5 separate regions of the Homo sapiens genome follow, and regions 1, 2, 3 and 5 are each linked to region 4. The links are contacts of gene promoters, found by promoter capture Hi-C in blood cells and fetal thymus (Javierre and others, 2016). All regions are on one chromosome and are shown on one strand. The core of a region is centred on a gene start or on the middle of the fragment in contact, and the rest is flanking DNA. Distances in the headings are between cores, read along the strand shown. Region 1 holds the start of LOC105376174 (a long non-coding RNA gene). Region 2 has its middle 23 kb from the start of SEC61B. Region 3 has its middle 19 kb from the start of ALG2. Region 4 holds the start of ERP44 (endoplasmic reticulum protein 44). Region 5 has its middle 56 kb from the start of TGFBR1.

Evidence for each region. Contacts are between HindIII fragments. The CHiCAGO score rates a contact against its expected background, and 5 or more counts as called.
Region 1: a contact is called between a fragment that was not itself captured here and the fragment with the promoter of ERP44 in region 4, in 1 of 17 cell types (monocytes). The highest score is 5.8, in monocytes.
Region 2: a contact is called between a fragment that was not itself captured here and the fragment with the promoter of ERP44 in region 4, in 2 of 17 cell types (M1 macrophages and M2 macrophages). The highest score is 5.8, in M1 macrophages.
Region 3: a fragment that was not itself captured here is called in contact with the fragment with the promoter of ERP44 in region 4 in 1 of 17 cell types (M2 macrophages); the score reaches 5.6 in M2 macrophages.
Region 5: a fragment that was not itself captured here is called in contact with the fragment with the promoter of ERP44 in region 4 in 1 of 17 cell types (fetal thymus); the score reaches 7.6 in fetal thymus.

The regions. Positions count from the first base shown.
Region 1 is chr9:99,183,661-99,188,052 of GRCh38, reverse strand. It overlaps LOC105376174 (a long non-coding RNA gene), which reads right to left and starts at 3,730. Exons shown (of 2, transcript XR_930169.3): 1 at 3,651-3,730; 2 at 2,517-3,459. It also overlaps the pseudogene RN7SL794P. RefSeq lists a silencer at 478-597 and an enhancer at 3,142-3,351. The HindIII fragment of the contact is 6,133 bases long and covers 1-4,392 here.
Region 2 is chr9:99,243,422-99,248,128 of GRCh38, reverse strand. No RefSeq gene overlaps it. Among named protein-coding and RNA genes, the nearest start is that of SEC61B, 23 kb to the right of the region's middle. The HindIII fragment of the contact is 6,907 bases long and covers 1-4,707 here.
Region 3 is chr9:99,200,713-99,205,102 of GRCh38, reverse strand. No RefSeq gene overlaps it. Among named protein-coding and RNA genes, the nearest start is that of ALG2, 19 kb to the left of the region's middle. RefSeq lists an enhancer at 1,668-1,837. The HindIII fragment of the contact is 5,389 bases long and covers 1-4,390 here.
Region 4 is chr9:100,097,278-100,102,189 of GRCh38, reverse strand. It overlaps ERP44 (endoplasmic reticulum protein 44), which reads left to right and starts at 3,190. Exons shown (of 12, transcript NM_015051.3): 1 at 3,190-3,406. The coding sequence starts at 3,350. It overlaps INVS (inversin), which reads right to left and starts at 2,947. Exons shown (of 17, transcript NM_014425.5): 1 at 2,774-2,947. RefSeq lists a silencer at 2,674-2,883 and enhancers at 3,124-3,263, 3,274-3,343. The HindIII fragment of the contact is 16,824 bases long and covers 1-4,912 here.
Region 5 is chr9:99,158,405-99,163,288 of GRCh38, reverse strand. No RefSeq gene overlaps it. Among named protein-coding and RNA genes, the nearest start is that of TGFBR1, 56 kb to the right of the region's middle. The HindIII fragment of the contact is 5,524 bases long and covers 1-4,053 here.

The sequences.
Region 1 (4,392 bases), core at 859-3,358, 910 kb after region 4:
CAGTCTTGTTTTCATTCATTTCAATGGATAATTCAGGAAGTAATTTAGAAAATAAATCCCCACCACTTTAACTCCTATTAAAATCAAATCAATAGACCTTATAGGTGAGACACTAGCTCAGGGTACTTTCTCCAGTACTGGTGGGAATGAACATTGATACAACTTGTGTAGGCAGTTTGTACACTTTCTCAAAAGGTGTATGTATTATACACATACCCAGGAATTTCACTTTCAGGATGTTAGCCTTTTGATAGGCTCATCCATGCGTAACATGACATCTTACAAAGATATTCACAGAGCATTGTTAATAACATTAAAAATGAGAAACAAATGTCGCATAATAGCGGACCAGCTAAGTGATAGTATACCCATACGATGGGATACTATCCCGCTATTTTTAAGCAAAAGCAGCTTTAAATAAGTGGTTAGGAATGATGTCCAAGATACAATGCTACTTGAAAGTAAAGGCATGTAAGCCTGTTTATGTTTTTGTATTCTTAGACTGCTCCTGTAAGAATACCTAAGAAACTGGCAAGGCGTTGCCTCCAAATTGGAAAACAGAAGTGAGAAATAGACTGACTTCCTGTATCCTCTTTTGTACCTACTTAGTCTATTTCAAAAACTAACAAACTTTAATTTCAAAAGCCAAATACTAGAGAAGGGTTTATGACAAAGCAAAATTCCTTTGTTCCATCCCTAGTCCCCCTCCCCAGTGGTAACCACTTTAGACAATTTTACATCTCAAATAATATGTTAATTTTGCTATTTCTTGGATTAACAATTCTGTATTACCTATTTATTTTATGTTCTAATAGTTGAAGACTTAGCTCGCCTATAACCCCGACCACTTCCTCTCCTGTCCTTTTAGTAAAGTTATATTATGTGCTAGTTCAGGATACAGCAGGTAATGCTGCAATGACAGACAACCCCAAATCCCAATGGCTTCTATCAAGAAAGGTTTGTTTCTCACTCATGGGACTTGTCTATTACAGGTCCATGGGGGACAGGAAGAGGCATAATCTGTACACTGTAATTATTCAAAACCCAAGGCTGATGGAAGAGCCACCATCTCACATAATGCCAGTCGCCTTCTAGAAGAAAGATTGATCCCACTGGTAATGAAATGCTAGCCCTGGAAGTGATTCCCATCACTTTGGTTCACAACTCAGTTACCAGAACTAATCTCATGGCCCCATCTAACCAGAGAGGGTCAGGAATTATCCAGAACAAAGGAGAACCAGAAATATCTTGGCAAGTGGCACTAATGACTAACATAGTTACCTTTGCAGCTAGACATAAAATAGTTAAACCTCTTTTTCTTGTTCTATCAATGTTAGGCATCATTTCCGGACTCCTCATTTTGTAAGATGCAATTGTTACTGTTACTAGCAGCTTCTTTGCCTTCTATCTTTCCTCCAGCTTTGGTTCCTGACTTCTTTCAGTTCTACTTTTCCCCACCCCAAACCTTTTTTTATTTTTTGTTAGGTTTGCTAACTCTCCCATACATTTCAGTAACCATAATCAGCTCTCTTATGCTCTGCAATTCTATGACTATATAAATATTATTTACTGCAGAGCCAAGCAATGTGCTGCAGTTGTTTCTTTCTTAGTGCATCTAATGTTACAATCTCTGGTGCCACCCTAGGGAATTTTCAGATGGATTCTCCTACACTCCATAAACTTCAGTTTTGCTTTGTATTTGCACTGAAATTTAAAAATCAATGGGAGCGTTGGAAGATGCAGCTGAAGAAATATGGGCCACATAAAGTATTAATGCGCCATGGGAGCCACAAAAGGCCCATGTGCCACCATAGAGCTAACACAGCCTCCATCGGCTGGAGGCTAGGACATCTGAGGCTGAACAAGGGACAGCTCCTGCAGGAACTGAAGGCAGAGCTTAGCATATGGGCCCAGGAGCCAGCACAGGGAACGCAGCCTCGTGCCTGCTCCTCACTGCCAGCCTGTGCTGGCCTCCTCTAATTGGATTGAGTGTTCTGTCATTTTCCCTCAGATGCACTGTGTGGAGAAGGGCCACATGTGCATTCACAGTAATGGTCTCCAACCACTATCCAGTTGGGACACTTTGGGGGCACTATGGAGGTCAGAAACAGCCAAAGGGCAACATGTTTTATTTTGTTTTTTAATGGAATCAGAATCAGAAGTATTAGCACCAATATAGGCTCTGTGCCAGGCACAGTGGTGGCACCCACCTGTCATCCCAGCTACTCAGAAGGCAGGAGGATCACTTGGGCCCAGGAGTTCTGGGCTTTAGTGCACTATGCCGATCAGGTGTCTGCGCTAAGTTTGGCATTAATATGGTGGCCTCTCTGGAGAGGGGGACCACCGGGTTGCCTAAGGGAGGGTGAGCAGGCCCAGGTAGGAAATGGAGCAAGTCAGAGCTCCTGTGCTGGACAATAGTGGGATCAGCCACTGTACTCAGACCTGGGGAACAACATAGTGAGACCTCGTCTCTAAAAAAAAAAAAAAAAAAAAAAAAAAGACAAAAGACAAACGAAAAAGCTCCGTGTGTGTTTATTGGGACAGAAGTGAAGGGAAGCAATGGTTAGAGATTATCCAGTCTGACCCGCCCATTCCACAGATGAGACAGTCGAGGCCCAAGGAATGGGAGGGGCATCTCCAGGTTCTCCAGCATCACAAGCTACTCCCCAGCTCTGCACCAGCTTCCCACATCAGTGACCCCTCTCTCCCTGCCAGCGCCTCCCATGTCAAAACAGCTCAGAGGACGGAAAGCTGGAGATGCTGGACGTGCAGAGACCCACCACCTGCCCGCTGTACAGAGCGAGACACTCCTTAGCTTACACAGCGAGTCGCCGTCAGAACCAGGGCCAGAGGGTCGCCCTGTGAACTGAGACCAACCCTCTCCCCTGCCCTGCCTCCCTCTCGCCCTTGAGTTCTCAGATGTAGGAAGGCAGCTCTACCCTGCTGGCCCCAGAGCGGTCACCGTCCATGGCCAGGAGCCAGCTACGTCCTGTGTGCCCTCCTCACTCTCCGTCCTTCCCTGCAGACGGGAAGAACGCTGGCATCAAACACAGTAGGAGAAGCAGTGATGGCCGTCCTTGTACCGAAGGAGCCATTCTTAAACCACGCTGCTAAAGCCACTTTAAAGGCTTTCAGAGCTCTGGGGCAGGGAGAAGGGCCATCGCCCTTCCTTAACAAAGTCACCTTTCACAACCTCCAGATTCTCCAGGCAGGCGTTTTTGGCTGGCTCTTTGGGAAGATCTTATGTGTGGACCACCATCGCCCTCTTGTGGCCTGTAGGCGAAGTGCTTTACGGTCTTGCTCAGAGAACAAAGGCCGTCAGTCTCCCTCCCTTCTCCTGTCTCTGGCACAGGAAGGGGTGGCTGCGTCAGTTTTTCATTCTGGGGGCCTTGGCCTTGGCTGTTGGAGCTTGATAGACTAATGAGATGTACATCAGCTCAGGAAACAGCTGCTGAGTGCCTGACGGAGGGGTTGAGTCAGAAGGAATGAAGTGAAAAATTGATTTATGTCAGAGGCTTTGGCAGGCATTTGTCTGAAAAATCACTAGCCGCCAGCGCTGCTCCAGTGCTCATGAGGCCGCGCATGAGTGTTCACACCCCCTCAACACCCACCCCACCCACCCCGCACCTCCGCTTTCACTGAAACCTTACTTCAAGGCCCAACTCTCACGCCTCCTCCTCCAGGAAGCCCAGCTTGCTCTCTGCAGCTCCTGAGACTCCAAGAAGAGCTTGCGGCCCACCCCTCTGCTTCCTCCTCTGCTCTGGTTCAGCCTCTGCCACGGTCGGAGCCAGCCGGGACTGTGGCCAATGTCTGCTCAACCTTTGAATCTCTGAGGACAGAGGCTGCATCTTGTGCTCCTAGAGTCAGGCCAGGCCCAGCCCTGAGTGGCTGAGTCTGTTGAATGAGAGAGGTCACTTCAGCCCAGTCATCGCCTCCGAAACCCACACCAAGCCCAACAAGAGATTCAGGCCCCTCTGGAGAAGGTGGGCTTTGTGGGTGCCCTGGCTGGCAGGGCTTTGTGACAGGTTTGAGGATGGGGCCATAGCAAGGGATGAACTGAACACTGACCCCCCCCCCAGTGCTTGTTCCTTCACTTACTTTTCCAACCTCCACTTCCCCAAGGAGTCCCAGGCAATGCCTGTTCAGCTGGTCTCTCCTGGGGCAAGCCTCTGAGGAGGAAAGAGTCCGCTGGACCTGGGGTTGGCTCTGGGGCAGTTATCTTGGTCCCTCCATTTCCTCATCTACCCAATAGCAGCAAAGAATATTGATTGGCATGGTTTGGGAACATGAACAGAGATGACTGCTGAAAACCCATGAGCACCACGGTGAGTCTTTCTGATCATTTCTGGGTTCTGAGCACTGGGTAGGCTGTTCCCACCACATAATCCACTC
Region 2 (4,707 bases), core at 371-2,870, 850 kb after region 4:
GAAATGTGGGCTTCATATTTACCTAGACCGAGAAATGGAAACGGGCTTCGTGACTTTCTTGATGTGTGACCTTGAAAAGCCCACATTCTTTATGCTCCGATTATCTCATCTGTACAACTGGGATTAAAATTATTTCTCTACTTCACTGAATGGCGATCCAATTATTCACCATGTGACAAGGTGCCTGTAAACCACAATGACAGCAGACACGGAAGGTGTTATAGAATTAACAGAGATTCTGAAGAAAGGGCTGGGGAGAGACAGTGTGGTCCACCTGCCCGCAGGCCAAGGTCAAAATCATTATTCTTGACATTTGAATAATACACTGAACCCTTTTGAAAAATAAAAGTCAGACAGCAAGCACTGACTTAAATTACTTTTATTATAATGCTTCTTCTATATGAAGAAACATAGAGCTAGGTTTTTTTTATTTTTTATTTTTTTTTAGAAATAAACTTTTTTTTATTATTATACTTTAAGTTTTAGGGTACATATGCACAATGTGCAGGTTAGTTACATATGTATACATGTGCCATGCTGGTGTGCTGCACCCATTAACTTGTCATTTACATTAGGTATATCACCTAATGCTATCCCTCCCTCCTCCCCCCACCCCACAACAGTCCCCAGAGTGTGATGTTCCCCTTCCTGTGTCCATGTGTTCTCATTGGTCAATTCCCACCTATGAGTGAGAATATGCGGTGTTTGGTTTTTTGTTCTTGCGATAGTTTACTGAGAATGATGATTTCCAATTTCATCCATGTCCCTACAAAGGACATGAACTCATCATTTTTTATGGCTGCATAGTATTCCATGGTGTATATGTGCCACATTTTCTTAATCCAGTCTATCATTGTTGGACATTTGGGTTGGTTCCAAGTCTTTGCTATTGTGAATAGTGACGCAATAAACATACGTGTGCATGTGTCTTTATAGCAGCATGATTTATAGTCCTTTGGGTATATACCCAGTAATGGGATGGCTGGGTCAAATGGTATTTCTAGTTCTAGATCCCTGAGGAATCGCCACACTGACTTCCACAAAGGTTGAACTAGTTTACAGTCCCACCAACAGTGTAAAAGTGTTCCTATTTCTCCACATCCTCTCCAGCACCTGTTGTTTCCTGACTTTTTAATGATTGCCATTCTAACTGGTGTGAGATGGTGTCTCATTGTGGTTTTGATTTGCATTTCTCTGATGGCCAGTGATGGTGAGCATTTTTTCATGTGTTTTTTGGCTGCACAAATGTCTTCTTTTGAGAAGTGTCTGTTCATGTCCTTTGCCCACTTTTTGATGGGGTTGAGAGCTAGGTTTTGACTTCTTATGCTGTGAGAGCATCTTTTAAAGAAGAATGTGAATAATGGCGTCTAGGAACCTCTGGATTGAGGGCCTGAGAAAAACAGTGGAAGTGGAAGAGCAGCCTCTTGAAAGGGAATGTCCAACCTCTTCCTCTTTTTCCTGTTTCCCACAGAAAATTTAACTAGCTGTGTTCAGACCGACATGATGCAAAAAAAAAAAAAAAAGTTCCCATCCTGGCTTACATGGTGAAACCCCGTCTCTACTAAAAATATTTTAAAAATTAGCCGGGCGTAGTGACGGGCGCCTGTAGTCCCAGCTACTTAGGAGGCTGAGGCAGGGGAATGGCGTGAACCCGGGAGGCGGAGCTTGCAGTGAGCGGAGATCACGACACGGCACTCAAGCCTGGGCGACAGAGCGAGACTACGTCTCGAAAAAACAAAAAAAAGTTTTTGATTTTTGAAAAAAATCAACTGTGTGCTTGCTTCTTCAAAAAGAAGACTATACCAGGGCAGAAGATATTCCTATAAATACTTATGATTGACATCTGTAAATATTTATAGTATTAACTTTTTGTGGACACACAGTAGGGTGGGGCGGGGGTACTGGCATCCAGGGGAAGGGTAGATGTTTTCGTTGTTTCTATCCTGTAAGGACTGTCTGATGGCTACAAGTGTTAACGAAAAGCCAAACTGTATTGATCACATTTAAAAGCTCTCTCTCCAGAGTGGGCTATGCCACACTGCAGTATATTTATACAACGGAATACTCTATAGCTATTAAAATGAATAAAACATAGCTACATGGTACAACAGGGGTGAATCTCACAAACAAAGCAAAAAATGCAAGTCACGAAGAAGACATACAGTGTGATTTCATTCATATAAAATTCACAAACAGCTAAGTCCACTCTATCATACTGCGATGCATACATACATCGTAAAATCAAAAAGAAAAGCAAGAAAATGATTCTCACAAAAGGGAGGCTGGTGATGACCTGGGGAGGGGACACTGGGAGGTTAGGGGTGCTTGCAAAGCTCCCTTTCCTGGCCTGAGTGGTGGTTACACAGGGGTTTCCTTAATTATAATGTAATTTGTGTAATTACAATGCATTAAGATGTATTTTTTAAAAACATTTTCTCTTCGTATAGATCACATTACTCAAAAAAACGAGGAAAGCTGAAGCAAATATGACAATATTAACTAATCTCAATACCTGAATATCTGAATTAATTCAATTAATGAATTAATTGAATATCTCAAACTCTGCTGGGTCTATATCATTAATTATTATACTGCTATATGAAAAAAGCCAGGCCAAAAAAAAGATTACATACATTATATATGGAATTTGATATTCCATTTGTATAAATTTCCAGAAAATGCAACCTAACCTAGAGTGGGAGAAAGCAGACCAGTGGGTGCCCGGGGGCAGGGCTTTCAAAGGAGCCCAGGGAAACTGTTGGGGATGATAGATACGTTGATTATAATGATGGTTTTGCAGTGTATACTTTCATTAAAATGTATCAAGTTATACTCTTTAAATATGTGCAGTTTATTCTATGTCAGCTATACATCAACAAAGCAGTTAAAAAAAAACTCCCCTGTGCCTTTTCATATGTTTCTCATAGTCTTCAGTATGCATATACCGCTTTGGAAATGAGGAAGATACTTTTAAATGGTCAGAGAAACCTAAGTACCTTGAAGCTGTCTACCAGAGTTGTATGTATGCTTGTGGTCAGTCATGGGTTTCAATTATGTCAATGTATTTCTGTTCTGCTTTTGATAGAAAAAAGACCTCCACGCTCTTCCCTTCTGTCTTTTCTCCTCTCTCCCCTCTTTCTTTTCCCCTCTTCTCTCTGTCCCTCTCTCTCTCCCTCCCTTCCTTCTTCCCAGTCTCCCTTCCCCTTCTCTCTCCTTCTCCCCTTCTCCTCACTCTATTTCCTTTCTCTCTGTCCCTCTCTCTCCTCCCACCCTTCCTTATCAGTCTATTTCCTTTCTCTGTCTTTCTCTCTTTCTCTTTTTCTTTCTCTATCGCTCTTCTTCCCCCTCCTCTCTCTATCTCCCTCTCTCCTTTTCTCTTTGGTTCTCAGTCTTACTCTCTATCAGAAAACACTTTTCTTCAACTGAGCAGGCAGCTTTGGGAGACATGACAACACTCATAATAATGACAAACAATCATTTCTGTCATTTAATAGCATTTTATAGTTCACAACATGATTTCTCATATCTGTCTTCTGATTCTCACAACAATCCTTGGGTATAGTAACAGGAAAATAAAAAGCAACTGTAACCACTTCTGCCTTATAAGGAGGGTGGTAAATTTCACAACAGTGGGAAAGTAAATTTCTTTACTGCCCCTTCCACTTTCAGAGACTGTTAGTGAAGACAGCAGATGAAGGACAGAGACATTTCTTCTGCTCCAGTTCCCCACCCTTCAGCAATGGCATGGCCTCTTAGTTTTAATTAAAAAATGCATCCCTGGCTATGCAAAGATACATCCAGAGCTGAATTGAGGGTTGCGGCAAACACTGCTGTTGGCCTATCCAAAATATATTCTTTAGGGCCCTGACTTTTTGGTGAGCAGAAATGTGTCCCCACTAAAAAATTAGATTTCTTATCCTCCCTTCTAGATAAGAGCGGTCATGTGACTACCTTCAGGCTAATGGAATGAAGAAACTATTGTGTAGGATTGGAAATGCTCCCTAAAAAAGTGGCTGACTCTGTTGGCAGGTCTCTTGTTGACCTTCCTTCTTCCTCTACCCGAAATATGGATGTAATAACTGGTGCTGCGGCAGCCACTCTGCAGGTATGAGGTGGCCTTGATTGAGGACAGTGAGCTTGTGCTAAGTACACCAAAACAGAAACACAAGAGGAGATAAGGACATTAATGAGATGGTAGCATTACCACATCAGCCCTGGAATGCTTCTGTGGTTTGGATGTGTCCCCTCACCTCAAATTCAGGCGTTGCCAATGTAATATATTTAGTGTGGCTTTTTAGAGGTGGTCAGGTTATGAGGGCTTCTTCTTTGTTAGTGGAATTAAGGTCATTTTTAAAAAGCCTTCACACAGCAGGATTTGGCTAGCTTGCTCTTCACCTCTTCTGCCATATGAGCATGCAGCATCCTGCCCTTATAGTGGATGCAGTCTTACCAGACAATGAAACCGAACCTCCTAGTGCCTTGATATTGGACTTCAACACCTCCAGAACTATGAGGAATACACTTCCATTGTTTATACATTACCAGTCTGTGGTATTCTATCATAGCAGCCCAAAATGGACAAGCCAAATGCCTACTTCAAGACTTCTTTTACCTGAGAGAAAAACCTTAGACCTCATTTAAGGCATATTATACAGGTCTCTGTTGGGCCAAAATATAGTTTCTAAATGATAGAGAATTGATGAGCTT
Region 3 (4,390 bases), core at 912-3,411, 900 kb after region 4:
TCCTGCCATTGCACTCCAGCCGGGGCAACGAGAGCAAGACTCCATCTCAAAAAACAAAACAAACAAACAAAAAAAAACAGAAAAAGAAAGAAAAAAAAGTAGATGCCGGCGAGGATGCAGAGTAAGGGAACTCATACACTGTTGGTGGGAATATAAATTAGTACAAGTATTATGGAAAACAGTATGGAGATTTTTTAAAATAATAATAAAAATAAAAATAGAGATACCATACAATCCAGCAATCCCACTACTGGCTATTTATCCAAAGGAAAGGAAATCTGGGCCAGGCTCAGTGGCTCATGCCTGTAATCCCAGCACTTTGGGAGGCTGAGGCCGGTGGATCACCTGAGGTCAGGAGTTCGAGACCAGCCTGACCAACATGGTGAAACCCCGTCTCAACTAAAAATAAAAAAGTTAGCTGGGCTTGGTGGCATGCACCTATAGTCCCAGCTACTCCGGAGGCTGAGACAGGAGAATCACTTGAACCCAGGAGGTGGAGGTTGCAGTGAGCCAAGATGGCTCAACTGCACTCCAGCCTGGGCAACAGATCAAGACTCTGTCCCCCCAAAAATAAATAAATAAATAAAGGAAAGGAACTCAGTATGTCAAAGGAATACATGCACCCCCTTGTTTATTGCAGAACTATCCATAATAGCAAAGATATGAAGTCTTTGAAACATGTCCATTAACAGATGAATGGATGAAGAAAATGTGGTGTATATATTCAAAATGACATACTATTCAGCCATAAAAAAGCATGAAGTCCTGTCATTTGCAGCAACATGGATGGAACTGGAAGTCATTATGTTAGGTGAAATAAGCCAGGCATAGACAGACAAATACGTTCTCACTTATATGTGGGCACTAAAAAAGTTGATCTCAGCTGGGTGGGCTGGCTCACACCTGTAATCACAGCACTTTGGGCGGTCGAGGTGGGTGGATCACCTGAGGTCACGAGTTTGAGACCAGCCTGTCCAACATGGTGAAACCCCGTCTCTACTAAAAATACAAAAAAATTAGCCGGGCGTGGTGGCGGGTGCCTATAATCCCAGCTGCTCAGGAGGCTGAGGCAAGAGAATCGCTTGAACCCAGGAGGCGGAGGTTGCAGTGAGCCGAGATCCTGCCATTGCACTCCAGCCTGGGCAACAGAGCGAGACTCGGTCTCAAAAAAAAAAAAAAGAAAAGAAAAGAAAAGAAAATTGATCTCATGGAGATAAAGTAGAAAAATAGTTACCAGAGGCTGGGAGGGGGTCGGAGGGTTGAAGAGAGGTTGGTTAATGGATACAAATATACAGTTAGATTGAAGAAATAAGTTCTAATGTTCAATAGCAGAGTAGGGTGATTATAGTTAACAACAATGTATTGTATATTTCAAATTAGCTAGAAGATAACCTGAAATGTTCCCAACACCAAGAAATGGTAAATACTCAAGATGGTGAATACCCCAAATACCCTGACTTGATCATTACACATTGTATGCATGCAACAAAATGTCATGTTACACTGTCAATATGTACAAATATTGTGTGTCAATAAATTTATTTTTAAACTTACCCTCAAGAGGTCCTTGCAGGCAAATCATGCCTTCTCACATACCTTTCACTCGTTGCTTCTACTTCCACAATAAATCTTACTCATATATATTTAGGACCTACCCTGTGCATAGCACTGAAGATAAAGAAATGAAATTAGCAGTTTAATACTCTTTGACTTACATAATTCTGCATTGTTCAATACTAATATCCTCAGACCTGACTTTCTCTTTGTTCACGTTAAATAATCATATTTTACCCATATTTTAATTTTGAATATTTTTTGGTTTGTCTAATAAATAGAGAAATCTTAGATTTAGTGTTTTTTCTTATAGTATTGGTTTTTAATATTTTATTAAAGATTACTGAGGTTGCTCTTATTACACCTGTGTGTGTATATACACACACACATATATATACACACATATATACTCACACACACATATATATACACATATATACAGACCTGTATATATGTACACACACATATATACACACCTGTATATGTGTACACTGTATGTATCTACACACACAAGTGTAATACATATATACATAATATATATGTGTATATGTGTATATATTCTTTGTACCATCCTTTTTTTTCTTAAAAAGGACACTTGCTTTCCCTTCTGATTTTCTTCATTCTTCTGCTATTCATTGATGTATTTCATTATCCCATTATTTCAATATAAATAATTTCTTTCAAATATTTTAATTTTTTTATTTCAAGTTTGATAATATATTTGCCGCAGTTGTTTGGACTTACTTCAGTACAATCAACTGGTCTCACTGGTTTCTACCTTAGATTCATTGTTCCCTTTCTATGGAACACATCTTTGAATAACATTTTTTCAGAGAGAATATATGCATTTGTATAATTCCCATTGTCTTGCATATAAATAGCTTGATTATATATAAAATTCTTGAGTCACATGTTTTTCTTTCAAAACTTTGTAAATGTTTACCTTCTAGAGCTGCTTTTCCTATAATATGTTCCAAGGAAAATAAGCTGTAAAAAATGCTTCAGGAAAAAGGGCTCCATGGTTATATAACTATAGGAAAACTTCCATTCCTATAGGAAAGGTACATTTTCTATCAGAAATGTACCAGGGAAAGTAGCATACTATAGGCCATGAGCTCTCCTGAGGTAATGAAAATGGATTAATTTTATTTCCAGTGTATCCAAGCTACTTGACCACAGTAATACTGAGAGAAAGCAAATGACCAACAATACAGTAACAGGTAACATCTTTTCAGCATGTACTATGCACTAGGCACTGTTCTAGCACTTAGTCTGTGTACATTATCTGATTTAATCCTCACAATAGTTCTAGATGGGTGGTAGAATTTTTCAATCTGTTTTAACAAATGAGGAAACAGAGGCACAAATAACTTAAGAAAATGAGCTAGAAAATGCTGAAGCTAAATTGAAACCCAAGTAGTTAGCTCCTGAACCATTATTCATATCCTTAAGAGTTGGCAGGGAAGGGCAATAAAGGCAACTTCTATATCTTTCCTAAGCCTGAAAAACACAGCGAAACATCTAATTGTACCAGAAAAGAAAGGGAACTTTCCACCAACCAGAAGTACACTCTGCTAGACTGTCCTAGAATTTGCTGCTGAATTATGGCACAGGCACTTTGGGGGGTAATCTGATGATCATCCATGCAAGTGCTCAACCTCTGCTGTTGGCCAACATCCAGGACCCATCATTGAATACTCATCACCTCATCAATTCATCCTCCTCAACTGACGGGCAAAACAACATCCAAATATTCATTGCACATCTGTGCCGGGCAGATTATACATTAGCAATTCAAATCTGGCCGGTGTGCTGGCTGTTCCTGCAAATGCGTCTGTTTGGGTGAGATGCCTTGTTGTCTGGGATGGATAATAAGGCAACTCGGTCTAATCTTGAAGAACAATCAACCCATCTTGTGAAGGTGACTGGCTGTGTGTGTTCTTGCCCTGGCAGCATTGGAACAATGGCCCCATAATGCACTCGACTCAGCTGGCAATGAAGTCCCATCCTGATTAGTAGCCGTGGCTGGTGTCAATCACCACAGGATGCATCATTGTCCCCTGGTCCCCAACACAGTTTATTTACAGGAAAACAAAGGCTTTGGGGGGCCATGGCTGCTTCCCAGAGATTGCAAAATAGATTGAGCTGTCAAGCACACAAAGTAGATGAAGATTAATGAGTTGTGCGGACAATAAATATGAAGAGATGACCATGAATATGCTAATGGGCATTATCCATATACACTGTAATTGCTACCAAAATTAAAAGGTGGCATGAAGAAGATGGGTCACAGGGTGACAGGGAGATAATCTTGGATGCTTGAGACACTCACTCAAGATAAGGCTCTCTACAGGTTTCCTTTTTCCCCATTAAACCATCCTGAGGCATCATTATTCACAAGCTATCTGAATACGCTCCTTTTAAACAGGGATATAAGGGGCAGGGTGAGGGTGGGAAGCTGGAAAAGTTACTTTAAGGAAAGGTGTAATTAGAATAAGAAAGGCTTATCAAAGGCAAGAAGTGATCAGCTGTCAGTCTCCCACTTTATCCCCAGGGGCAGAATTGATGAGAGATGTCACTTCAAACTTCAGATTCCCCACGATAAGAGCCACAGGGATTATTGAGAATGGTATTTAGAATACCTTTCAGGGCGCACTGGGTGATTTTTCAAAGTATTCTAATATTCTGATTTAAAAACAACAATAATAATAATAGAGAAAGTTGAAGAACTTAATGTTTCAAGGCAAATGAAATCTTGCGATCATGAATGATTGGATCTTGGAAAAGCTATGCTCTGTAGTACTGTGGCATGGCCGTGGCATGGCTGAGTCTCACC
Region 4 (4,912 bases), core at 1,941-4,440:
GGAGGTGGATGGAGGTTGCAGTGAGCCAAGATCATGCCACTGCACTCCAGCCTGGGCACAGAGGGAGACCCTGTCTCAAAAAAAATAAAATAAAATAAAAAATAAGTATCAGCCGCATAGGAAGATAGTGAGATCCCTATCACAAGAGTGTTTAAGAAAGCAGAGGCTGGAGAAATGCAGCAACAATTCAAACACCTGATGGGAAGGAAAGATGAATAGTTGCATCAGTGATCTTAAACATCCTTCCTAAACCCTTAAGCTGCTTTATCAAAGTTCCAAAGCTGAATGCCTACAAGGACCAGAGAGGTAACAACTGTTAGAAACGTAGGGAGTCACAGAATCACGGTAAACTCAAGCATATGTACTTATCTAAAGGGAGCAGCTGTTAATCAGCTCCAGTTAATTGCTGCCATGAGGGTAGGCAAGTCCTTTTCTGATTTCACCAAAAAGCAGGTCACGCCAATCGCTGTTACTCCTGGGGATCTGAGAGTTTTCTAAGATAAATTTATAACGGATGAGCTGGTATTTGTCTTGTCATCGACAAGGATTATTGGTTCAAATTCTGCCCTTGAGAGAACATATTAATACTTTCTTAATTATGGTAAAGCACAGCTCCTTACGTCTTTATTTTGCTGACAATTTGAGTTAAGGACTGGCAGAAAATATGGAGGAAGAGGGTGTTGTGAGACACTTCAGTCATGTCTGAGTCTAACAGTCATGTCAGAAGAACTACTGTCATATCCAGGATTATATTAAGGTTATTTGAGAGAAGCTACAAAATAGAGGTGGAGGTGAAAACATGGGAGGGGAGTAACTGCACTTGGGTTCTAGGCCCAGTTGTATTTATAATCAGCAGTGTGTCCTCAGGCTATGTCAGCTTTCTAGGTTTCTGTAAAATGCAAAAAATAATAAGGTTAGACCATGTTCACATTCGTTCATTCAACAAGCTGAGTGACAACTATGTGCTAGGCACTGTTCTAAACTCTAAGACCTGTCATTTTTCATTCTAAGTGATCAGAGTTTTAGGCACATCAGAACCACAAAAAAAGTTCTTTATACCCTTTGAAAAATACACTAAAAATGTGATCTCTGTTTTATATATATGTGTGTGTGTGTATATATTATACATATATAAATTATATATACACATATATAATATATATAATATATATACATATAATATATATATTATATATACATATATATTATATATATAATATATATTATATATATAATATATATGTATATATATTATATATATTATATATATACATATAATATATATACATATATAATATATATTATATATACATATATAATATATATATTATATATACATATATTATATATATATTATATATACATATATTATATATATTATATATACATATATTATATATATAATATATATTATATATACATATATTATATATATTATATGTACATATAATATATATATTATATGTACATATAATATATATATTATATGTACATATATAATATATATATTATATGTACATATATAATATATATATTATATATACATATATAATATATATATTATATATACATATATTATATATATTATATGTACATATATTATATATATTATATATATATACTTTTTACTTCATAATTCTTAGCACTTAGCACAGTAACAGGTATATAGCCAGTACTCAGTAGATGTTTGTTGGATGAAAGGTCACAGGCTGAGTGCTAAGTCCAAAAAGTGAGCAGGATCAAAGTTTAATTTCTTGAATAATGAGTTCATACTTACAAGTCTCTGCTCTTTTAAAATTTCCCATTTCAACTATCTTTGGGCTCTGTCAGGGGCGTGGACAAGAGATAGGAGCACTAGTCTAGGAGTTAGGCCGCCTTGGTAAGAGTATTGGCTCTATCACTGTCTAATTTTGTCACCCTGAGAAAGCCATTATGCAGGGCTCTTTTTTTTTCTTAAGAAAAAATGTATTTTTTGCCCCTTTAAGAAAATAAATCATTTTTTATAGAAAAAAGTCAAAACCACTTTGATAAAGTGCTATAAAATGCAAAGGTGTCATCATCCTTGCCTAATTATACAACAAGCCCGTGTAATAAATGCTCTAATAATTATAACCGTACAAAACTAGAGGTACTGCAGTCACACTCATAGGAAGAGTAATTCTGATTAGGACTAAAGGGTTGGTTGTTCGGGAAGTTCTCAGAGATGGTGACATTTAAGATAGCATTCCAGAGAGAGAACGGGTAAGGCCATTCCAGGCAGCAGGAAAGCTGAAGCAAAGGCGGGAGCAGGGAGAACCACAAAAGCACAGTGTGCCTCCTGGGTACTAAGCAGAGATCGCGTGGGCTCCTGGACCTCACTGAGTGTTTGCAGAAGAAGCCGCAGAGCTACCTGGGGCCAAGTTAGGATCCTCGACTGCTTTGCTAGGGAATTTCGTAATTATACTGGAGGAGCGATCCACGCCTTAGCAGCAATCACTCACACAGTTTTCCAGTTTACGACGTGCTATCCCATCCCGTACCACATCTACTCCTTACAGGAGCCCTCAGAGACAATCAGGGATAAGTCATTGACTCATTCAACTGAGGCCCCGAGTGGTGGCTCTGACTTTATAATGCAGGAATTAGAGCAGAAAGAAGAGGCAGCGGGCGAGGAGGCCAATGATGGAGGCTCAGGCCACAGCCTAGGCCAGGAAGGCCGTGAGTCTGCAGCAGGGGCCAAGGCGGTGCGGACCGAATGATCTGAGCCTCCCCAGCCAGGCCCCCTCCTACTCACCCTCGCCTCCTCCAGGACTGACGTCCCGGGGGCGGCTCCAGGAGGCGCAACCCGGACCGGGCCGCCCCTCCTGCCGGGCCGGTACACTATATCCAGCCAGGTCAGACCCCACGGCGCTGAAGCTAGCCGAGCCCCTCAAAAGGCCGCCCGAGGCTTTCGGCCGCACATCCTTCTGGGAATTGTAGTTCCCATCCTCTGAAGCACCGCGTACACCCGCCCTCCGCCCTTCTATCCCACAGGACCCCGCGCGCAGAGGACTCAGTGGACCGGGGCCGAGAGCCCAATGGGAAAGGAAGTTCTAGATGACGGACGACGTGCGGGGTGAGGCTAGTGCAGGACTACATTTCCCGAAGTGCACCGAGGTGGGCAGGACCCGGAAGTGAGGGTGTGAGAGGCCTCTCTGGAAGTTGTCCCGGGTGTTCGCCGCTGGAGCCCGGGTCGAGAGGACGAGGTGCCGCTGCCTGGAGAATCCTCCGCTGCCGTCGGCTCCCGGAGCCCAGCCCTTTCCTAACCCAACCCAACCTAGCCCAGTCCCAGCCGCCAGCGCCTGTCCCTGTCACGGACCCCAGCGTTACCATGCATCCTGCCGTCTTCCTATCCTTACCCGACCTCAGATGCTCCCTTCTGCTCCTGGTGAGTGAGGGAATGACAGACCCATCGACAAACGCACGAACGGCCTCCGGCCCTCGCCCAGGGGGAACACTGCTACTCCTGCCCCTGCTTTTCCGTCTTTTCCTGCAGTGTTTTGGAGTGCACCCTCCCCCGCTGCCCTCACTCTCGCCTGTCGGCTTCCAGGCGCGGAGTCCCCGAGGCCTGAGAAACCAGTGTCGGGGGAGAATGGGAGAATTAGCCCTGAGGGACTGATACGTAGTCACGGCGTAGGAGCTTCCCCTTCTCCCCGAAGTCCGGGGGTTTCGGTTTCGAGGGCTAGTGGACCTGGTGGTAGCTTGAATCGGAAAAGACCAAGCATAGACCTAGCGTTCCTTCCCACCCTCTCCATTTGGGAAGAGTGTGAGGTCGACAGGTGCTGGGGTTGTGTGACTCTCACTGGGTCTAGATCCCTGAAGCGGTGCCCGGGTTGGCAGATCCCTCTGTTGTGGCTTGATGCGATTGGTTGGGAACCCGGAACTGGAGACTGGTTTGGATTCCACTGGGAGAATAGAGTTTGAAGGGTGGAAGGTGTGGTTACCTGACAATCTCAGCTCAAGGCCTCCCTCAAATCTTATTGCAACGTATTTCCCCATGGAAGCAGATTTCTTCTTCATTGCGCCTTATTTGAATATGCATTCATTCCTAACTGCCTAACCTGCTCAGCATCATCCCATCTTAAAAGAATCTTTCCCTAGTCCCTCTTGCCCCAGAGTACGTCTTGAGTGTGCAGACTAATTGATCCAGGCTTCAGGTCAAATTGAGACAAAAGCGAAGGACTAAACACGTATGGCAAAATGGCTTATATTTAATTGGGCTGTTAATTATAATGTAATATTTGAAAGTACCTTAATTGTAGTAGATTTTTAGAAATTCAGATTTAAACATTAAGAACTACTTTCTTTACAATTTAAGAAACGATTTAGTGACGCATATGAAGTCACACAGCTAGTTACAGGCAGAGCTGGGATTAGAAACAAGTCTCTTGACTTCCAGTGCTTATTCCGCCATATCCCATTAAATGTTTAATATTTGTGTTTGAAATAGTTCTTTCTTTTCTTTTGTCACTTGGACCTTTTCGGAAAAAGCACTGTAAAAAACTAAATGGCATGTCAAAGTACTTTTGAGAACAAAAAGTTGTGTATAAACATTGTAATATTAAATGATAGAGTGTCTTATTGCCACTTCTTATAAGTATACAACAGTGAATGACTTCTGTATCGAGGAAAATATTCTGTATAGTGTTGTTTCTTGGTGATTTCATTATACACTGTGATACATTTTTCCTTCTAGAAGTGTTAGAATAATACCATTATTAGAGACCACTCTCTCCTTAAGAAGACTGGATACTAATCTTATCCACAAAATGGCTTGAGTTATGAATTGTGTGCACTTTTAGGAAATCAAAAAAAAAGGGCAAAAATCTTAAGATATTGTAAAGAAAAGTTGAGACACTGAACAGGCAAACTATATCAGATGCACTTTCCTCAA
Region 5 (4,884 bases), core at 42-2,541, 940 kb after region 4:
CTTTTGAAACTTTACAACCATGAATAATTGTTATAATTAAAAATGTTAAATAATAGAATACTAGCTTGAAGATTTACCACATTTTTAGCTGGCGTAGGAGATATTGCTTTTGGTAAGGCCTCAAGAAAAACAGTCATTGATTTTGGTATGGCCTCAAGAAAAATAGTCTGATTGAGAACTACATTTAGTAGAACTCAATCTAAAACTAGGTAGAAACCTCAACTCTTTTCTAATATGAAAACAAAACAAACAAACCAAAACACTCCCGCAGACCAGAGACCAAAGAAAGATCAACACTGCCACCTATTGAGGATTTATTGGAGAACAGGCTAAGTTGAGTTTTTTTTAAATTGTGATTTTTAAACAGATTTTGAGATATTTTGAGATCTGCACAGACCTGAAATCTGGGTTATCTTCCACCAGGCACACGGATTCTTAGCCATAGAAGTAAGGAATCAGGAGCATACTGAGGGATGCTTGGGAAGGTATGAGTGACAGTTTAAGAAACAGACTCTGTTCAGCCTAGTAAAGAGCCTACCCAAAGGGACTTGGTCTCAGTTTCTTACTTGCTGTGCTACAGGACAAAGGCTGGGAGTGTGGGACCCTGGCAGACGAGTGGGGAGGAGATATGGGCCAACATATGTCACTCTGCTAGAAAGAATGTTTTAATTGTTACTTTCCAAAAATAAGATAATGTTCTGTGAAAACAGTGAAGGCACCCTGCTCACTGAATATATGTCAATAGAGAAGCACTGTGACCCTCCATCCTGGAAGTTACAGAAGAACATCAGCATTTCTGAGGAAGTTAGATTACAGTTAGATTATCTGCATGCACTCGTGTATTCAACCAAATACTTATTGATGCCCACTCTATGTTAAGTACTATGCAGGGCCCCTTCCACCCAGAGTCACAGATCCCATTCGACTGGCTTTTGGAATGACTCAAACATAGCCATGGCATGAGATAGTCCAGGAGGAATCAAGCTATATATTTGGTGAGCCATCCTAAACTCAGCCTGTATTTGGCAAGCACCGAATGTCTGTATCAAACTTAACCATGCTTAGGACACATTCTTTAAAAAGGTAGGCAGTGGCCGGGCGTGGTGGCTCACGCCTGTAATCCCAGCAGTTTAGGAGGCCGAGGCGGGCGGATCACAAGGTCAGGAGTTCGAGACCAGCCTGGCCAACATGGTGAAACCCCATCTCTACTAAAAATACAAAAATTAGCCGGGCGTGGTGGCAGGCGCCTGTAATCCCAGCTACTCAGGAGGCTGAGGCAGGAGAATCACTTTAACCTGGAAGGCAGAAGTTGCAGTGAGCCGAGATCTCACCACTGTACTCTGGCCTGGGTGAAAGAGTGAAACTCTGTCTCAAAAACAAACAAACAAATAAACAAACAAAAAACATAGGCAATGCGATCTGATGAACCAAACTCTTGTTCATTTTTAAAGGTTGACAATGAGACACCATCTCACACCAGTCAGAATGGCTCTTATTAAAAGTCAAAAAATAATAGATGGTGGGGAGGCTGCAGAGAAAAGGGAATCCTTGCACACTGCTGCTGGAAATATAAAGTTCCACCACTGTGGAAAGCAGTTTGGAGGTTTCTCAAAGAGCTTAAAACAGAACTACCATTCAACCCAGCAGTTCCATTACTCAGATACCCAAGGGAAAATACATTGTTCTATCAAAAAGATGCTCACATGTTTATTGCAGCACTATTCACAATAGCAAAGACATGGAATCAACCTAGGTGCCCATCCACGGTGGATTGGATAAAGAAAATGTGGTACATATACACCATGGAATACTATACGATCATAAAAAACCAAAATCATGTTCTTCGCAGCAACATGGATGCAGCTGGAGGCCATTAACCTAAGCGAACTAACACAGAAACAGAAAACCAAATATGGCATGTTCTCACTTTATAAGCTAAACACGGGGTACACATGGACACAAAAATGGGAACAACCGACACTGGGGACTGCTGCACGGGGCAGGTAGGAGGGAACAGGGGCTGAAAAACTATGCATTGGGTCTATGCTCACTACCTGAGTGACAGAATCAATCATACCCCAAACCTCAGCATCATGCAATATAACCATGTAAAAAAATCTGCACATGTACACCCTGAATCTAAAATAAAAGTTGAAATGTTTTTAAAAATCACATAAAAAGGAACTTGAGAGAATAAACAAATGAATAAAGGTTGAAAATATGAACATCCCAATATGATCAAAACAGATTTCATTCAATCATTGGTTAAAAAAAAAAGTAAGAACTATATGAGAATCACAAAATAATAGAGCTGGAAAGACTTCCAAAATGACCTGTATCACTCTGCTCATAAGCTGGGCTGGTCTAAATTGCTGTGAATAAGAATTCTGGTTTTCATTTGGGAGAACAGTACAAGAAAAGAAATATAAAGAGATGAATAATATGTACAGGATTTATTATACAGTCAATGTGCCATAAAGAGAATGCAAAATTGAGAATAAGTATCAAGAATGTAAAAATATTCTTTCACTTTACGTAATTCAAATCAGAAGATCCCAAACTTCCATCTTACTAAAAGGTGCTGGGTTCTGACTAAGGAGAGCTCATTGTTTTAAAAAGAATGCCATCAAATATGAGAAAAATATAAACCAATAAAAAAAATGGAAGTAGTTGATGGAATAAATAAACGGAATAGCAAGGGGAGGCCAGAAATTGGTGGGGCAGTAAGAAATCCCTTTATAAAAAAACTTGTAGGCCTTGCATTTGGGGAGCCCCAGGATGAAGGACTCTCCTTATTGATGAAGTAAATATCCATCTCCATAGCGACATTCTGTTAGATTGGTTCATATTCATTTGGGATTCCTTTAATTGAATATTCGTTCATTCAACAAGCTCCTCTTAGTGCGTGCTCTGAGCCAAGCCCTGGACTAGGCAAGAGCTTCACAGAAATGAATCAGACAGAGTCCCTGTTCTCCAGGCATTCATAGCTAGTTGCAGCAGCAAGCCTTGGAACAACACAGAGACGTAAAATTAATACAAGGGCTTAGAGGGAGGCATGTGTACGAAATGATGCGGCATTGGAAACAGAGTGTGGTGGGAGCCATTTAGGGAAGACCCCTAAAAATTTTGACAAAGCACCCCAAACATGCCAGACTCCCGGAGCATCCAAGGACCCAGCAGAGTTAGCACCAAAAATAAGCACTCAAACTATTTTGTTAATTTTCACGTTAGGTGCTTGGACAGGAAAATACACAGAAACCGTCTGCTTCTCTCAAGGGAAGAGAGGGAGAGCAAGAGTCCTAACTCCCTAAGGGGATTAAAACAGGAACGATGTGCAATGAAATGAGGTAAGTGATTTGGAAATGCAGCAGGGGATCAATGATTTGCCAGCAGGCAGGATGCGCAACAATAGTGGAGGAAATGCCTTCCGACCTGAGCCTTGGGGTTGATTCAAGTTAGCAAGGCAGAGGAGAGGGAAAAATGCAGTTCCAGCGAAGGGCGGAGCCTAGCAGAAAGGCAGGAAGCAGGGTGCGTCGGGACATGCAGCATGGCGGACAGATGAAGGAAGTATGGTGGGTGGCAAGAATGGTAAGGTGAGACCCGGTGCAGTGGCTCACGCCTGTAATCCCAGCACTTTGGGAGGCTGACGCGGACGGATCACCTGAGCTCAGGAGTTCGAGACTAGCCTGGGCTACACGCTGAAACCCCGTATCTACTAAAAAATACAAAAATTAGCCTGGGGTGCTGGCTGGTGCCTGTAGTCCCAGCTACTCGAGATGCTGATGGGCGAGAATCACTTGAACCCGGGAAAGTCGAGGTTGCCCGGAGCTGTGATCGCACCACTGCTCTCCAGCCTGGGTGACAGAGAGTCCCTGTTTAAAGAAAAAACAAAAAACAAACAACAACAACAAAAACTGGCAAAGGCGAGTTTTACTTTTTTTTCCTTTAACAGACGTATTGAGATATAGTTTACACACCATAAAATTTCCCCATTTCATGTGCACAATGTTTAGTAAATTTACGGAGTTCTGAATCCATCACCAAAATCAAGCTTTGAAACATTCTGTCACCAGTAGAAGGTCGTAACTGCAAGTTGTCCAGATTCCTGGCGTTTTGAACAGAGTTGAACAAAACGCCCAGCAAAGCAAAGAAAGAATGAAGCAACAAAAGAAGGAAAGCAGGGATGTATTGAAAACAAAAGTACACTCCACAGTGTGGGAGCAGCCTGAGCAGCTACTCAAGAGCCCCCAATACAGAATCTTCTTTGGTCCAAATACCCCCCAGAAGTTTCCCATTGGCCACTTCATGCATACTTCATGTAAATGAAGTGGTAGCCCTCAATCAGTCTGATTGGTTGCAGAAAGCAGCCAACCAGAGGCTGAAGTTACAAAGGTCACACTCCTGTGCAAACATCTGATTGGTAAAGGCAACCAATCAGAGGCTACGGTGAAGTTACAAAGTTATACTTCTGTGCAAATGAAGACTGACTAAGCCTGCAATCAGTCTGGTTGATTGTGGACGGCAACCATTCAGAGGCTGGAGCTAAGTCACAAAGTTGCAAACGAAGACTCCACTGGTACTCAGTCTGATTTGTTGCAGACAGATTTCCCATCTGCAGCCTCTGGTCCTTTTTTTACTTAGGCGTGGAAAGTTAGGGTTTTCCTTTCAATTTAGTTCTAGGAAGTCAGGGTGAAAGAGCCTTAGGTTCCCTGCCTCCAGACCCTATTCTCCTGCCTCAATTCCCATCATCCGAAAAAGCTCCCTTGTGCCTTTCTGCAACCTTTTCATCCCACTTCCTTCACTTAGCATGAGGGTTTTGAGGTCATCCACATTATAACAAGGATCAAGCAGTCTTATAAACCATGGTATAAATACCTTACCTCT